Linked DNA regions of Homo sapiens: region 1 is linked to region 2. The links are contacts of gene promoters, found by promoter capture Hi-C in human tissues and cell types (Jung and others, 2019). All regions are on one chromosome and are shown on one strand. The core of a region is centred on a gene start or on the middle of the fragment in contact, and the rest is flanking DNA. Distances in the headings are between cores, read along the strand shown. Region 1 has its middle 27 kb from the start of RPN1. Region 2 holds the start of SEC61A1 (SEC61 translocon subunit alpha 1).

Region 1 (5,943 bases), core at 567-3,066, 620 kb after region 2:
GGGGCCGGAGGAAAGAACACTGGCCCCCTGATAAGGGAGACCCAGCAGCCTGAAAATCCTCTCGTAGTGCATAGTCATTGCTTCATCACTTACCCTTCTGGCGCCAGTTACAGAACCACACTGGGGCCACATCCTCTCCAGCCCAACCTGGAGATCTGCTGCAGTGTGGGTTTGTGGGCGCACTGGCTGATGTGGCTGATCTGCTGGGCAATGTGGCTAATCTGCTGTAGTGTGGGTTTCAGGCACTGCAGGAACAAGTTCTCCAGCTTGCCTCTCACTCGGTTCTTCTTCTTTTTTTTTTTTTTTTTTTTTTTGAGATGGAGTCTCGCTCTGTCGCCCAGGCTGGAGTGCAGTGGCGCGATCTCTGCTCACTGCAAGCTCCGCCTTCCGGGTTCAGGCAATTCTCCCGCCTCAGCCTCCTGAGTAGCTGGGACTACAGGTGCCCGTGACCACACCCGGCTAATTTTTTTTTGTATTTTTAGTAGAGACAGGGTTTCACTTTGTCAGCCAGGATGGTCTCGATCTCCTGACTTCGTGATCCTCCCGCCTCGGCCTCCCAAAGTGCTGGGATTACAGGTGTGAGCCACCGCGACTGGCCCGGGTTCTTGTTCTTTCGGCCTGCCTGAGGGTCTCTGCTTTGCATATCTCCTGAAGCTCTTCATTGTTGGCTGCTTCCTCCACCCACTTCTGCAGCAAGGGAGGCAGCTTACACATGTTCTTGAAACTGAGCTGCAGAGCCTCAAAGCAGCTGATGGTCATTTGGCTGAACACCTTCCCAAATAGAACCCCCCAGAGGCTGGGCATGGTGACTCACTTCTGTAATCCTAGCACTTTGGGAGGCCAAGGTGGGAAGTCAGAAGTTCAAGACCAGCCTGGCCTGTAACATGGAGAAACCCCGTCTCTACTAAAAATACAAAAATTAGCTGGGCATAGTGGCACATGCATGTAATCCCAGCTACTTGGGAGGCTGAGGCACGAGAATCGCTTGAACCCAGGAGGCAGAGTGAAACGCCTAACCTTGTTTTTACTCTAACTCGTTACTTTGAATTTTATCCTGCTTGTCTCTTTAATCACCTAGCCTTGCTTCTCATGTAAATAAGACTCTCTCTAGCTGGGAAAGCCAGACAAACTCCAATTGACCCCTTAATTTACAAGATACTAAGGGCTCCTTACCCAACCCCCTTCCGCAAGGAGTTAACCTGTGTAAGCAGATCCTCAGCATTTCAAAGTAGCCCAATTAACTGATAAGGTACTAGCACCAACAATGTATGAAGTTCCCAGGATTTTTCTCAAAGAGATAACAACATAAAGCCTTGAGTTCCTGTCCGGCATACCCCCTATATCTAATTATAATAAAGGTTTAAAGCCTTGCACCTGGTACCGTTGCTCTTCTTGTAACCATTTGTCTTTTAAATTGTTTATCTCTTTGTAACCATTTTTTTTTTATTCTTGCATGTTTTTACTTCTGTAGAATTATTGCATTTGAGTTCCCCTCCCCTTCCTAAACCTAGGTATAAAAGTTAATCAACCCCCTTCCTCGGGGCCAAGAGAATTTTGAGCGTTAGCCGTCTCTTTGGCCGCCGGCTTAATAAAGGACTCTTAAATCGTCTCAAAGTGTGGCGTTCTCTCTAACACCCCTGGGCACAACAAGAGGTTGTGGTGAGCGAAGGTCACGCCACTGCACTCCAGCCTGGGCAACAGAGTGAGACCCTGTCTCAAAAATAAATAAACAAATAAATAAACATTTAAAAAAAGAGCCCCCAGGGTGAGCCCCACACGGGCCTGGATATATCCCAGGGTGATCCTCTTCTGCTTCAGGAGCTTGGCAAATTACAGAGCTTTGATGTCCTGGGACTCGTTGAGGTTTTGCTCCAGCTTCTCCTTCTCTAGCTTCATGGCACCAGCTGGGGCAGTGCAAGGCTCCAGGGAGGCCCCTCACAGTTGCTCTCCACCCAGGCTCCTGCCTCGCCCTCAGGCTGAGAGGTCTTCAAGCCACCTTGGGGCACTAGCCCCACTGCAACCGGAGACCCAGAGTATACCATCTGCCCACGGAACTCATGCAGTGGGGGGCACGGGAGAAACCCCCACATCTCAGAGCCTGGCCCAACACCCGGCCCAATTCCTGCCTTGGAAGCTTAGCCAAGTCCAGCTCCCGCCCCGCTGACCCATTACCTCCACCACCTGGAAGGGGCAAGAAGGTGAAATCCAAAGCCAGGTGTCCCACCATGGGGAAGGAAGGCTCCCCAAGCCAGGGATCTGGTGAAATGAGGCAAAAAGTTTTTAAATTTTAAAAAAAGTTGTTTTAGAAATGAGGTCTTGCTATGTTGCCCAGGCTGGAGTGCAGTGGCTATTCACAGGCATGATCATGGCTCATTACAGCCTGGAACTCCTGGGCTCAAGCGATCCTCCTGCCTCAGCCTTCTGAGTAGCTGGGACTACAGGCATGTGCCACTGTGACCTTCTTAAGGCTTTTGAAATTTTAAAAAGAAAAAGAGTCTGCATTCCTGACAACACACCAATGCCCCATACAAGACTCAGATGTGCCTGCCCTTATTGCTACTTATTGCTTGAGACAGATTAACCCTTGTCTGTTTAAGCCACTATAGAAGGCTACATTGTTATTTGCAATGTAATTTGCATTGTTATTTGCACTATAGAAGGCTACATTGTTATTTGCAGCCACAGTCATAATTATAATTATATGTGATAAATCTTGGAGCTTATTCTACAACAGTACTACTTTATTTTGTAGGAGGGGCTGCATAGAATTCCTGTTAAACAAATGTGTCTTTTTTTTTTTTTTGAGATGTGGTGTCACTCTGTCACCCAGGTTGGAGTGCAGTAGTGCGATCTCCACTCACTGCAACCTCTGCCTCTGCAGCTCAAGTGATCCTCCTGCCTCAGCCTCCTGAGTAGCTGGGACTACAGGTGCCTGCCACCACGCCCAGCTCATTTTTGTATTTTTTGTAGAGACAGCGTTTCACCATGTTGCTCAGGCTTGATGTGTCATTTTTCAAAAATCAAGCCAGTCCCCTATTTATGAACAATTAGTTTGCTTCCATGCTTTTGCCATTCAAACAGCCCTCAACTGTACCTCTTTCTACGTTTGTCTGTGCACATGGGGGAATACATATGTAAGATAGTTTCCTTGGCCCTGAAGTGCTTAATCAAAGGATTGGTACAAAGGATTAATGTTACATTAACAGATATGCCAGCTTGCCTCCTCATGGAGTTGTAAAAATGTACACTCCCACTTGTAGGTATCACAGCCTGCTTTCCCCAGCCTTGCAAACAGTGTCCCATCACAAGTCATTCTGAATGCTAGTATAGGACACCAAATCTCTCTTTCCTCCTAACAACCTGGCTAGGCAGCCAGGACAGGGATTCCTATTTACTACACTCTGGTTTTATAGGTAAGTAAACAGATTCCCAAGGATAAGGAACCTACTTTTCCCAACCTCAACCTGAATTTCTGGGATTAATACCTTCTAAGAATAGATATGAATGTGTAGTGTTGTAGCAGTAGCAGTAGTATTTAATAGTAGTAGTAGTAGTGTAGTACCATCATCCCCATTCCCCATTCCTCAAGCTGGAAGCCATTCTTTTCTTCACTTCTGGTGGAGATGGGGACAAAAGCTTTGTTTCTTTTTTTTTTTTTTGAGACGGAGTCTCGCTCTGCCACCCACGTTGGAGTACAGTGGCAGGATCTCGGCTCACTGCAACCTCCACCTCCCGGGTTCAAGCAATTTTCCTGCCTCAGCCTCCAAATTAGCTGGGATTACAGGCCTGCAACACCATGCCCAGTTAATTTTTGTTTTGTTTTGTTTTGTTTTTTGAGACAGAGTCTGGCTCTGTCGCCCAGGCTGGAGTGGAGTAGCACGATCTCAGCTCACTGCAACCTCCATCCCCCTAGTTCAAGCGATTCTCCTGCCTCAGCCTCCTGAGTAACTGGGATTACAGGTATGTGCCACTAAGCACAGCTAATTTTTTTTTTTTTTTTTAGATGGAGTTTTACTCTTGTTGTCCAGGCTGGAGTGCAATGGCGCAATCTCAGCTCACTGCAACCTCCACCTCCTGGGTTCAAGTGATTCTCCTGACTCAGCCTCCTGAGTAGCTGGGATTACAGGCATGCACCACCATGGCCGGCTAATTTTGTATTTTTAGTAGAGATGGGGTTTCTCCATGTTGGCCAGGCTGGTATAAAACTCCTGACCTCAGGTAATCCGCCCGCCTCAGCCTCCCAAAGTGCTGGGATTACAGGTGTGAGCCACTGCTCCCGACCCATTTTTTCTTTTTTCTTTTTTCTTTTTTTGTATTTTTAGTAGAGATGGGGTTTCACCATGTTGGCCAGGCTGGCCTAGAACTTCTGACCTCAATTGATTCTCCCATCTTGCCCTCCCAAAGTGCTGGGATTACAGGTGTGAGCCACTGCACCTGCCCAAGAGCTTTGTTTCTATCCTTTCTAGTCCATTCCCTCATAATTTCTGAGCCCCAATCCTTCCCTTCTTCCAACCCTCTTCTCTTTGTTTTCCTACTAGGCCTGCCTTTGCGAAGTCCCACTGTAGATCATAAGGAGGCTGCAAGAACTGATGAGTGGTCCATTTCCTTGCAACCTCTAGAAGCCGGAATATACTTCAGGCAGGGCCTTGTTACCAGAGACAATGTGTAGCAGTTAAGGCCAGAGCCTTCCACTCCACACCACCCAGGAATTGCTATGGCTGTTCTGTGACCTTGGCCAAGTTACTTCTGCTTTCTTCACTGTCCTTATTTGTCAAATGGGAATGCTAGTACTAATCACCTCACAGAGTTGTAGTAAAAACTGCAGGCTGGTGTAGTGGCTCACATCTGTAATACCAGCACTAAGGGAGGCAGAGGTGCGAAGATAGCCTGAGGCCAGGAGTTGGAGACCAGCCTGGCTAATACAGAGAGAACCCCATCTACACACATGCACCTGTGACTGTAAAGACTACGTGACTGTTGCTACTACATTATTATTATTATTAACAGAGGACACTATTAAGAATCCAGCATTGTAATCTGAATACTCATTTTAATCCTTCCAACGATCCCCCAGATCGTTGTCTCATTTCACGAAAGAAAAGGAGCCTCTAATCCCATCCCTACCAGGGTTTGGCAAAGTGGGCAAGTGAGAGGCTCAACCATGAGCTTCAGTTCCTCCTCTGTAAATGGTAACAATGGCACTGTCACAAAGAGGACCAAGTGAGACCACAGGAGGCCCGTGTGTGTGCGTGTGTGTGTGTATGTGCCAGAGACAGAAAGAGAGAGAGAGACAAAGTTTCACTCTTGCTGCCCAGGCTGGAGTGCAATGGTGCAATCTCAGCTCACCGCAACCTCCACCTCCTGGGTTCAAGCAATTCTCCTGCCTCAGCCTCCTGAGTAGCTGGGATTACAGGCATGCGCCATCATGCCCAGCTAATTTTGTATTTTTAGTAGAGATGGGTGAGTTCTCCATGTTGATGAAGCTGGTCTCGAACTCCCGACCTCAGATGATCCGCCTGCCTCGGCCTCCCAAAGTACTGGGATTACAGGTGTAAGCCACCCAGCCCGGGCTTTTTTTTGGGGGGGGACGAGTGTCCCTCTGTTGCACAGGCTGGAGTGAAGTGGCACGATCTCGGCTCACTGCAACCTCTGCCTCCTGGGTTCAAGCAATTCTCCTGCCTCAGGCTTCCAAGTAGCTGGGACTACAGACGCCACCACGCTGGCTAATTTTTGTATTTTTAGTAGAGACGGGGTTTCGCCATGTTGGCCAGGCTGGTCTCGAACCCCTGACCTCGTGGTCCGCCCGCCTCGGCCTCCCAAAGTGCTGGGATTACATGCTTGAGCCACCCCGCCGGCCGGCCGTTCTTAAACGCACGACTACTTCCCTAGCTTTCCAGCACCAAATCCAGCGGCCCCACCCGGCCACGCCCCCACGCCAGGCCA
Region 2 (5,850 bases), core at 1,003-3,502:
AGTTCCAGGCGGGGATTCATTATTATTACAAATTTCTTGTTTATTCTTCTGCAGATATCAAGATTTACATTTATCATACTTAAAAGTATTGAAAATTCATCCAGATTTTTGTGGTCTCTTTCATTCTAGGTGGATGTTTCTAATATCCTATAATAAAATCTTAAATGTATAAATATAAAACACTGCATACCTATTTTCCGAAGAATTAATGTATGTGCTTACAATAGAAATATTTTATTATTTTTTGAGACAGAGTCTCACTCTGTCGTCACCCAGGCTGAAGTGCAGTGGTGAGATCTCAGCTCACTGCAGCCTCGACCTCCCAGGCTCAAGGGATCCTCCCACCTCAGCCTTTCCAGTAGCTGGGACTACAGGCATGCGCCACCATGCCTAGCTAATTTTTTTCTGTATTTTTTTCTAGAGACAGGGTTTTGCCATGTTGCCCAGGCTGGTCTTGCACTCCTGGGCTCAAGTGATCCTCTTGCCTTGGCCTCCCGAAGTGCTGGGATTACTGGTGTGAGCCACTGCACCCAGTCCAATAAAAATATTTTAAACTAGTGATTCTCCTAAAGCAATCAGTGATTTAACACACGTAACTTGGCTGCAGTCCCTGCAGTGACACAGGCCAGATTGTGTCATAATGTGGAAACAACAGGAGGCCTGTTATCAATGGTACTGACATCCTACAACTATTAGCACAAACCAATGAGTTTATATTAAAATTTCTATTAACTAATTGTAATATTTATTGTAATTACTATACTATTTACCCTCGAAATATTTCAACATTTTAACCATCAATATGGTGCAGGGTGCATAATGGCTAAATATCGGATCTAGTCTATATGCTGAACTTAGTCCAGGGGCTGCCAGTTTTAGCTTCAGGCCAAAACTCCAGAAGAGATCATCAGTGGGTCCTGGAAGTGAAGATGGGTTGCATTTCAGACTCTGAATAAAGAGTCAATGTCTTCTTTTTCCCCTTTTTGGTGGGGGATGGATATCAAGTGATGTCACACCTAGACCACTTCACTGAAGTTACCTGCCTGTTCCCAGTAGTCCTTTGAATTTTCCACCAGTGGGTTTGTATTCCAAAAAAGACTTCCTGTCCTGTCCAACTTTCTGAGCCAAGAATGTACAAAACCTGATTATCTGCTAGAAATGGGTGAGAATGGAAAAATCCAAATAGTTGACACCTAAATTAAAAGCAAAAAAGCATCTTGCCACATATGTACCCTCAACTTCTACCTGTCCTGGTCAAGGTTTAGCTCCATGAAACCTTGCCTGATCCCACAAGGCGTGCCCACCTCCTCCCTGCTAAATGCTCACAGCATTAAGTCTGTTTCTCTTAGATGACATCATACCTACTGACTACAGATGCCTGAAAGTAAATTCCAACCCCCAGCCCCAGCATCCCTTGCCCTACCCGTTATCCCCCTTTCCCACACCGATCTTAGGCAATCACACCGCCATGCTTTGCCCACAACAGTCTCCTCAACCTGTTCCCTCATTCCTTCTCGCCAGAATCTATCAAGGCTCGGCACAAAGGTACTCTCCCAGGAGGCCTTCCTGAATTCTTCTGTGAGGCAGACTACTTCCCGAGCTGCCCCGGCCCTTCTCCGGCCAAGTCTCTCCAGAAACTCATCCCATTCGTTCTCAGATGGAAGGGGACCCACACCCACGACAAGCCTCCGGGTTTGCTTAATGACTCAGACAGCGAGGGTGCTCGGTAAGCCCCACCAGCCCGCGCCCTACTCAGCAGGTAATGACGGAGACCTACTAGGTGACGGGCGCCGCGGTAGACGCTGGGATAAGGTCCCTGCTCCAGGGAGCTTACGGTCTATTCACTAACGTCAAAGAGCAGTGAGTGCTGTTACGTGTATGGGAGCCACCAGGGTCTCCGCCTGCCTGCAGGGCCACGCGCGCACTCGACGCTTCGCGCCTGCCTCAGTTTCTCCGTGAGGCCGCACAGCCCCAGTCTCGGGAGGCGTGACACACCCTCCCCGCGCGCTCTCGCGTTACCAAGTCTGCGCAGCCGCACACCCCCAGTCCCGGCGGGCCCCGCGCGCCAGGCCCCTTCCCGACAGGCCCCAGGAGCCCCGCTGCATGCCGGGGCTTGAGGTCTCGGCGAAGCGGCGCGGCGCGGCGAAGCGCGGCGGCCGGCGGGCGCGCGTGGCAGGAAGCGGAAGCGATCCGAGGCCCGGCCCCGGCCCCGCCCCGCGCCGCGCCGCGCCGCTTGCCGCCGGGCTAGCACTGACGTGTCTCTCGGCGGAGCTGCTGTGCAGTGGAACGCGCTGGGCCGCGGGCAGCGTCGCCTCACGCGGAGCAGAGCTGAGCTGAAGCGGGACCCGGAGCCCGAGCAGCCGCCGCCATGGCAAGTGAGTCCTGTAGGGAAGCCCTATTGAGGCCGGGACGGAACAGATCCCCCTTCCCCACACCCGTGCGGTCGGGCGCCCGCCGGCCAACCCTGACCGGCCCCCTGCAGAACGCGGCCCGTGCCCCCGGCCCTTCTCGAGTATCCCCACGCGTCCGGGGTGCGGCCGGCTCCCCTGGCCCCTGCTCTCACTCGTCGTGGGCAGAAGGCGTCCCTGGGTAGCGCGGAAGGTTACTTCTCTGTGTCCCAACTCTTCCTGTTTTGTTTCTCCCATCAAAGTCAAATTTCTGGAAGTCATCAAGCCCTTCTGTGTCATCCTGCCGGAAATTCAGAAGCCAGAGAGGAAGGTAAGTACCCCAAATCGCCAACAAAGAAGGTTTCAGGAAACTGTCTGGACTCTGGAAGTTTACAGTATGATTAAAAATGGCTTCAGCACGGCAATGGAAACTCTCCCTTCTCTTCCCTTGGAGTGTAGTTGTGCTCTGTTATTCCGGAGAGCTGTCGAAAGGTGACCTGGTTGTGTGGAAATTTCCACTGAAATCACTGTGCTTTATTTGGAGCATCTTTGGTGGATGTTGCTCCGAGAACAAAGCCTCCGGTTGCCCTGTCCCAAAAATGGATCCGGGCCATGAATGAATAAGGCCTCAGTTAGGATAGCAGATTGAGTTACCCTCCCTTTTTCACCTCCAACGGGAGCAGATCACGGGTTGGTTTTTTTTCCCAGGAGATGCCCTTTGTATCCAGCTGCTAAAGGGAAGGGCTGTCACTTTAGTATTTACAAATGATTTTGTACCTTTTATGTAGGCTGTCACAATAGGGGGAATAAAGGCTATTCTTTTGTGAAGTCTGCTGCTTTTCACAGACGGTGTATTAAAACAAGGAAAGATTAAATTTAGAGCTGTGCTGAATCAGAAATTGTGTGGAGTGAGTGTTGCCAGTGTAACTACAGCTGTCAACGAAAAAAAGTTTCATTAGGTTCCTAGGTTAGAGAGTGGGGAATAAAATGTTTGTGTCCTCACATTATTTTTCAAACTGTTGTTAAAGCATTCACATGGACACTTGGGTGCTTGGAATCCACTTTCATTTTTTTACGTAAAATAGTTTCATATAAATGCCCATGTGCTGCTTTTAATGGACGAATTTGTAAAGCTTTACCCCCTCAATTCCAGTGTAGCGAAGGGGCATGGCTCTGGAGGCAGGCAAGCCTAGGTCCCACCCTTTACATAGCACCTTAATAGCTATGTGACCTTGGCCTTGTAACTCAGTGTGGTAGACGGAACAAGGGAAATACGTGCAAGGTATAGCAGTGGCTCAGGAAGGGATTAACTCTGGGAGACATGATGTCTTATGGTGGTTTTGAAGGAGAAATAGAAGTCTCCTTGAAGGGACGGAAAGGAATTCCAAATAAAAGGAGTATATAGTTTGCAAAGGCATTGGTGACAAGAGTGTAGCATGTTTGGATGGGAGGTTATTAGATGTAGTTGCTATTGATAGAACATAATTGTAGGTGGGGAACATTAGGAGATGAATAACAAGGGCCAGACATGAGAATGTCACTTTGGAAGAAAAGGAGAGGACTAGAGTTGGTTTAGAGGCTTTTCACATCAGAGGATGAACTGTGGTACTGAGCAAGAATGGATTTAGGGGCTACTAAGAAGCAGAGGAGACAGGACTTGGATAAAGAGCTTTTGGGGTTTTGATGTTAAATTTGATTGTAACCAGGAGAGAGGACTTGGTGATTAGAAAGGGAGTTTTGAAAAAATTGTCTGCTCTTTGTTTCCCATCAAGATTCATTTCAGACAGGTTACTCTGAAATGGCGTTGCCTTCTCTTGGCCACTTTCTAATTTCTTAGTGTGGTGGGATGGTAGGTGGGAAGAGGACCATTCTCAAGAGAAGAAGAGTCCTGTGAATGCCCCCAGCTTTGGATGGAGTATCTGAACACTGATTCACCCACTGTTGTGTGGCCGTATGACTGTGTCCTACTTTGCCTGCATGTATAGTTAGAGGACTGTGACTCCAGTTCTGGCCAGAGGGCCAGGAATGCTGACTCAGTGCCTGCCTAGAAGTGTTTTTAAAGAACACAGTTTTGTCACTTAATACTGTCAGTCTCTCACAAGGTATTTCAACCTCAGAATCTTCCGTCTGTACAATAATTAATGTTTGTTAAGCCCTCTAAAGCCATTAATGTAGTGTAGGCAGCAGGTATTAGTGAAGACACTCAGTTTCAGAGGCAGAAAACCTGGAAGAGTTCCCACTCTACTCTTTAGTGACAGAGGTTTTGGGTGGGAGGTTTTCTAATGATACTTAATACTTAATAGTCATCTTTACAGTGATTCTTGTCACCTATGCAACCTATGTACCTGAGAAGATGTGAAAATCCTTAAACAAATGTTACTAGTAGGTTAAACATGCAACTCTCCTGCCCTTCCCCAATATGGTTTATTACACTGTTTTACCCTTAATTCATAGAAAATACACTATTGAGCAATTCCAAATTACTTGACTCTAGAATAACAAGGTTTTGTGACTGAAACTCAAATGAAAAGTGGTTGCTCGTGTGTTTTACAAGTCATGTTCTATTGTGACATTCTTTGTTCTTGAGTCTTAACTGTTAATGCTAATGGTTAAAAGCACAGTTTGGGACTCAAACTCACTTTAGCATTGGGGTTTGGTACAAATTATTTAGCTCTTCTAAGGCTCAGTTGTAAAATAAAGGTAATGCTCTGTGGTGTGAGGTGAGCTGGGGTGATGCCTGTAGGTCCTTGCATTGTGCTCTGTGCAGAGGAAGTTACGCAGTACATGGTACTTATGTTTGGTACATGGTTTGGCTTCTCTGCTGAACAGAGAAAAGAGTCTGGTTGGAGTCCATTTTTAGAGAAAGGGGTCTGATTGGAGTCCATTTTTATTAATTTGCTTTTCAAAGTAACTCCCTGCTTCAATTCATTCTCTCCTACTCTAGATTCAGTTTAAGGAGAAAGTGCTGTGGACCGCTATCACCCTCTTTATCTTCTTAGTGTGCTGCCAGGTAAGCTCAGGCTTGTATTTCGTATTGGGGAGGGGGATAAGAGTGGCTGGAAACAGGAGTGCTGACTGTTTTGCTCTTTGCCTGTTCCCAGATTCCCCTGTTTGGGATCATGTCTTCAGATTCAGCTGACCCTTTCTATTGGATGAGAGTGATTCTAGCCTCTAACAGAGGTAGGACTCTGGCTCTGTCTTTTCTCTGTAGAGTGTAGGCTTACCTAGCTTCACTTAGTTAAATTAATAGGCTTTGGCTTTATATGGAACTTAGAGAGTGACTTGGAAAATAGAGTGAAGAATGTTAAAGTGCTGTGTTGAATAGCCTTATTAAATGCTGAGTTCAGCACCAAGGCATACCATCATATTTGGAATTGTATTTGAATGCAGTACAAAACCTGTAATGAGAAGATAAGTCTATGCTATAGAGAGAATAAAAAACATGGAAAAACTAGAATACTTT

The links. The method cuts DNA at HindIII sites, captures the fragments that hold promoters and counts their contacts. A contact is called where the count stands out against the background at its distance.
Region 1: a fragment that was not itself captured here is called in contact with the fragment with the promoter of SEC61A1 in region 2 in 1 of the 25 tissues and cell types used here (dorsolateral prefrontal cortex).

Annotation. Positions count from the first base shown.
Region 1 is chr3:128,674,779-128,680,721 of GRCh38, forward strand. It overlaps the pseudogene POU5F1P6. Among named protein-coding and RNA genes, the nearest start is that of RPN1, 27 kb to the left of the region's middle. RefSeq lists enhancers at 558-627, 5,742-5,943, 5,909-5,943. The HindIII fragment of the contact is 6,212 bases long and covers 1-4,922 here.
Region 2 is chr3:128,050,185-128,056,034 of GRCh38, forward strand. It overlaps SEC61A1 (SEC61 translocon subunit alpha 1), which reads left to right and starts at 2,253. Exons shown (of 12, transcript NM_013336.4): 1 at 2,253-2,375; 2 at 2,651-2,718; 3 at 5,332-5,397; 4 at 5,489-5,567. The coding sequence starts at 2,369. LOC102723759 (a long non-coding RNA gene) reads right to left here and starts at 1,991. Exons shown (of 4, transcript XR_007096073.1): 1 at 1,778-1,991. RefSeq lists a cis regulatory region at 1,818-2,434 and a silencer at 1,927-2,566. The HindIII fragment of the contact is 6,890 bases long and covers 1-5,850 here.